Regions from separate parts of the Homo sapiens genome. Here region 2 is linked to region 1. Evidence: promoter capture Hi-C in 16 types of primary human blood cells and fetal thymus (Javierre and others, 2016). All regions are on one chromosome and are shown on one strand. Each heading gives the region's core, a stretch centred on a gene start or on the middle of the fragment in contact. The rest is flanking DNA. Distances are from core to core; before and after follow the strand shown.

The links. The method cuts DNA at HindIII sites, captures the fragments that hold promoters and counts their contacts. A CHiCAGO score of 5 or more calls a contact.
Region 2: a fragment that was not itself captured here is called in contact with the fragment with the promoter of TTC39B in region 1 in 1 of 17 cell types (total B cells); the score reaches 5.2 in total B cells.

The regions. Positions count from the first base shown.
Region 1 is chr9:15,305,966-15,308,851 of GRCh38, reverse strand. TTC39B (tetratricopeptide repeat domain 39B) reads left to right here and starts at 1,636. Exons shown (of 20, transcript NM_152574.3): 1 at 1,636-1,768. The coding sequence starts at 1,727. RefSeq lists silencers at 1,382-1,721, 1,752-2,071 and enhancers at 1,309-1,871, 2,435-2,886. The HindIII fragment of the contact is 2,405 bases long and covers 1,395-2,886 here.
Region 2 is chr9:14,701,429-14,704,314 of GRCh38, reverse strand. No RefSeq gene overlaps it. Among named protein-coding and RNA genes, the nearest start is that of ZDHHC21, 9.4 kb to the right of the region's middle. The HindIII fragment of the contact is 4,992 bases long and covers 1-2,886 here.

The sequences.
Region 1 (2,886 bases), core at 387-2,886:
GGATTTTTAGACAATTCAGAGAGTTGAGCAACCATCACACGATCTAACCCATTTTTTCAATGTTTCTGCTGTAGAAACCATTTTATTATTCTAGTACAAAAGTACATGCCAAGCCATTAAAATTGTACAGCAAGTATTAAGGATGCAAAGTGACTCACTGAAAATGTATGTAATGGACTTGCACAGACAACTGCTCTACTGACACAGAAAGAAAGAGAGGGAGGGTGGCTAGAGCCAGTACAGTACAAAGCAATGGTTATCAGCTAGGCCCTAGAGTTAGACTGCTGGGGTTCAGATGCTGGCATCCCTACTTACTTAACTGCTGTCTGGCCTCAGGCATATTACTTGAACTCTCTGAGCCTCAGTTTACTCATCTGAAAGAGAACAGCACCCTACTTTATGGGGTTATGAAGAATAAATGAAATACTATATGCAAGAGGTTCAGTAGAGTCCTGGCACATAGTAAGGACTCAAGAACTATTAGCTGTTTTTACAGTTATCACTGGATGACTATTAAATAGCCTTTCATGAGCCAGACATGGAAGACCACATGCTCTAATTAAATTTATATGAAATTCTAGAGAAGGCAAATCGATGTTGATAGCAGATCAGTGATTGACAGAGGCTAGGGAGCGGAGGTAGGAAATTGACAGCAAAGGGTCACAGAAAACTTTTCAGGATGTTCTATATTATGACTGGGATGCTTTGTAAACACTTGTCACTGAATCACACATTTAACTTGGTGCATTTTTCTGTATGTAAAGTAAATCTGACCTCTCTCCCCCAAACTCTTAAAGATCTAGCTTTTAATTTTCCAGTTATTTTACATGTCAGAAGCAAGGTTCAGTTTCTAAACTCAGCCAACAAATATCTGTTGAGCACCTACGATGTGCAAGACACTGTTCTGGGTGTTGGGGATACAGTCTTGAAGAGGACAGATAGCATCCTACCCCCATGGAGTTTATAGTTCAAGCACGAATTATACACCTATGTTTGGAGTTACAAAATACAGGATGCTATGGGGAGAATACACTGTCCGGGTAGGGGGAAGTAGAGGAGTTCCAATATGTATAAATCTCTGTCCCGCGTTTTTTTCTATTTTTTGAACACAGAAGCAAGCAGAGTCCTTCCACCTACAGTCCAGGTGGGTGGTGTGTCAGAGGCCTCTCGGGGACCAGTGACCGTGACCCAAGGCTGCCCTCAGGCCACACCATCTGCGAGATGCGGTGGCCACCTGGCGAGGGAAAAGGACTGGCACCGGACCAAAGACCAGGTGGATGCTTCCACGGACCCCAGGTGGGGCGCTGCTTTGACCTTGGCTTCGTCATGCCCGCGCTCTCTAGCTTCTTTCCAGGTGTGCCCAGCCACCGCAGAGAACAGGCGGCAGGAAAGCTTAGGAAACCCTCCCAGAGGGCGTGCCAGACCGGGAAACTTTATCTGGGAGGTGACTCCACCCACTTGGGCGGGGCTGCCGCCCGCTGGGGGCCGGGCAAGTGGCCCGGCCAGCGGCGCGGCGTCCGGGGAGGAAATGGATGCTGTGCTGGCCTGCCGGCTCCGGGGGCGGGGAAATCGAGTAGCTGCACTCAGGCCCCGCCCGAGACCCGGAGGGAGCGCCGGGCCGTCCCCTTTTGCCCTCCTTTGCGCTGGGCTGAGCCCAGAGCCGAGAGCAGGAGTCGGCTCTGAGTTCCCTGCTTGGTTTTTGGGTGGCAGCAGCCAGAGGAGGAATATGGCGCTCTTAGGCAGCCGAGCGGAGCTGGAAGCGGACGAGGTACGATCCGATGGGGATTGCGGGCCCGGCCCCTGAAGCCCTGGACAGGAGTCCGGGAGAGAAGAGTGAGCCCGGCTAGGACGGCCGAGGCCCCGCCCCCTTGGTCCCCTCTCTGGGGTGGGCTGGCGGGCGCCGGGTGGGGGCGCCCGGCCTTGGTAGGTCTGTCCCCGCTGGAGCTAGGAGGGTCCCTGCGGCGCGCGGAGCGGACGCAGTGCCGAGGTTCGGAGCGCCGGCCCCGCGAGTCGTGGGGATGGAGGACCCACGTCCTGCCAGCACTTGGATGGGCGTGAGGGCGCGGGACCATAGGACCCGCAGCTCTGAGCTGTTCCGGGCCGGCCCAGCGACGCCTGGGCTTTACGAAGTCTGACCCTGAAGTCCTGGCACTGGCTCTCTGGGTGTTCGTGGAATCATCCCTCGACCTGGGAATCTCACCTTCTATGGAAGTTTCCTGGTGGCAGAACCGAAAGGCTTACGATTGATGAAAAGAGGGGGCAGCCTGAGGAACAATGAGTAGAGGGGTACCTGCCGCGACAGCAGGGCAGGGCTGCCAGGGGCTGGGGCTGGAGGGCTAGAGCCGCAGCCCAGGCTGTGGTGCTTCCCTCTCCCTCCACGGGGCCGGGACACTTCCCCTAGCAGGTCCTCAGAGTCGGTGGTGGCCGGAGGGAAACCACTTTGAGAACCGACTCCGGCCTCCTTTGGTTTCAACTGTGTTTGAGTAATTAGCCACTCCTTCAGTCGTGGCGCGCCCGGGCCTGAGCACCCAGGGGCTAGCGCGCCGGACCTGTTGATTTATTGACTATTCATTTCAGCACCTGGCAACTCCAGAGACAGCGCTCTCCCTGCTCTTGAAGTTGAGACCGAGGCTCCAGCAGCAGCCAGCACCCACAGCTGCTGTTCCTGCCATCTTACCTGACTTGAATTGTGCGAGTCGCTGCCTTTAGAAGGCTTTGGTTTCAAATGATGCAATAGTGGACGATCTGGAGGAGGCGGTTAAGTTTCCCGTCCATCTCTTTAGTGCCAGGAATCTCCTGACAAGGAAGACTATACTTTAAATGTGCTCCGTAAAATAAACAAAAAACAAAAACTGAACTACAGCTCCTCTGCATGACAGAGAGACA
Region 2 (2,886 bases), core at 176-2,675, 600 kb after region 1:
CCTGAAATCTGGGGTAGTATGGACATGACTGGTGCTGAGACTCATTCTGCAGGGTCTTGTGTAAAAGACTGTGGGGGAGTCTTCCTGGTACTGAATTTTACAATGGTAGGCCCAGTGTTGGGGCCCGGGAGAATGTCCTAAGTTCATTTACCTCTCTTTCCCCTAAGTGGACAGTATCTGTCTCTGTGCTATGCTGCTTGGAGTTGGGAAGGGGTGACACAGGTAATGTAAAACTCTCCTTTCTACCCTCTTCAATGTATCTTTTCTTATTTTTGTGCTACAACCAGGCACTGTGATCTCTCATATGTTTTTCTTAGCCCTTGTGAAGGTATTTTTGCATGTGGGTAGTTGTTCAAATTGATGTCTCTGTTGGGGGACAATCACTGGAGAGTACTACTCTACCATCTTGCTCCATCCTTCTTCTAAGTTGCACTTTTTATCACGTAGTCATTACACTTATTCTTCCATCAGTATTTAGCATTATAATTCAATAATTTTCAACTATTATTGGCCCTAAAACTTACTTCAGGCACTTACTGGCAATGCCTCTTTCTGGGTTCCATACCCAAGGATGCTGATTCAGTGGGTTTGGGGGTATGCTCAGATATCTGAGTTTTTTTCCCTTTTTAGTCATGAAGATTTTAAAACCAAGCTGAAAAAAAGTACCAAAAATACTTCTATACATTCTACCTTAATTCAACAATTTGTTGGCATTTTGTCATATTTGCTTTATATCTCAACTTGTATGAATGAGTGTATATGTGTATTCACTACATATTTCTGTATTGTTTGAACATGTGAAAGTAAATTTCAAATATCAAGACACTTCCACTTTTTTTTTTTTTTGAGACGGAGTCTTGCACTGTCACCTGGGCTAGAGGGCAATGGTGCGATCTTGGCTCACTGCAACCTCCGCCTCCCGGGTTCAAGCGATTCTCCTGCCTCAGCCTCCTGAGTAGCTGGGATTACAGGCACTTGCCACCATGCCCAGCTAATTTTTTGTATTTTTTTTAGTAGAGATGGGGGTTTCACTATGTTGACCAGGCTGTTTTCGAACTCCTGACCTCATGATCCGCCTGCCTCAGCCTCCCAAAGTGCTGGGATTACAGGCATGAGCCACTGCGCCTGGCTGACACTTCCACTTTAATACTCCAGCATGCATCTCCTAAGAATAAGAATATCCTCCTATATAATTAGAATACTATAATCACTCCTAAGATAATTAACAGTATTTCCAAACTATCATCTATATTTTGCATTTTAACAGAAGATTCTAGACCTAGTTGTCTCTCTCTCAAGTACAGTGGGACAAGTTTCAGATATTGTGACAGACCAATGGGGAAGATTTTGGGGGAGCAAGCAGCAGGTCTTATGAGACAACCCAAATAAGCCTCAAGTTAGCTTTGGGTTGACTTCACAAAGTTCATCAGACAAATGTGCTATCTTGCCAGAATGGCCACTGCACTTGACACACAGTCTAAGCTAACGCAGATAGGTCATGTGGCTTCTAGGAGCCACTCCTACACACTGATTTCAACTATAAGACAGGGGAAACACTCTTTCCTTCCCTAGGAAACTTCAAAGAAAATCCTCCTGCTCTCATTTTCATAATAAAAAGTTGACTGGTGAATGTACAAAAAGGCATCCATGTAATTAACTATATACCCTGGTTTAAGTGATAAAGTTTGCTTCAGTGTAAATGATCAGTCAAATTACTCCCCTCTGTGATTAAAGAGTTAAAATTGTGGCCCAGCGTCATGCTCCAGGGCAGCTGTAAGAAATAGAGATCATGGGCGTTGTAGTGTGATAATTCTGCATACTCTCTAATATTGTCTTCATAAAATAGCATCAGCTGCTGCTGCATATGGTATAACTTTAATATGCTCTTTTAATATTTACAGTATGCCTATAAAAGATTTCATGATGACAGTTGGTGGTTCCCGTGGTAATTAATAAATGACAGTACAACTGTGATCAGATGGTTTTAGGAAAGAGTCTCTCAGAATGCTGGCTTTCACAAATCCAGGCCTGGGGATGATTTCTGGGGGCAGGGTTTTCTAAACCTGAGGTTGACCCCATGTCGTTATTTGCCTATGTGGTTTTGTAGAGTTTTATCTCCAGGTTCTTCCCAAACAGCAAAAAGTGGGAAAGAAGACAGAGGAGTTAGTAAGAAGGTTGCCTGCTAGAGCAGATATGAATTTGGAAGTGACTTTTTTGTTTTTGTAATGCAGTTGTAGTGCAACTTACTCCTTGACAAAGAATATGTAGATATGTGTGAGTTTGGTAGGTCTTGCTACCTGAAGCAGCATAGGTAGTTAATAAATCCCACATGTGGTCAGTGTCTTCTAAGTAGTTGGTCAATCTTTTACCATTGATTCCACTGAATTCTTTGATAGTGTTTGCTTGCCTCAGGCCATTCATCACCACACTTTGAGCCCGTATTGCCTATGGGATTTTCTCACGCATCTCTATTTGCTGTTGCATCCATGTGAACCATGTTTTTTATCACCTAAGGCTGAGGCTTCCCACGATGTGTCAAAAGGTGAAATTCCAGGTGGCCTAAATTTTCCCATTTATTAGGTGTAGGTACAATGAACTCAAAGCAGGTATGTTGAATTATTATAGTATATTTGTAAACCAACAAAAGTTAATTCTATAAAGTGTTTTGGAGCCATAAGATATAACAGAAAGTATTTCTTTTGTTACTTTTGGTACCAGGATTTTCCTTGAAGGACTTGGAGATTCATTTCTGTATTCAACATTCTCTTCACCTGAGCAAAGTGAAGAAGTACTGTCTCCTTCTGCCTTTTCATCTCCTTTCCCAGAGCTCAGCACTCTCCTCTTTCCTTTGACTTTCTGAGAGCTCAGCACTTCCCATTCTGTGTC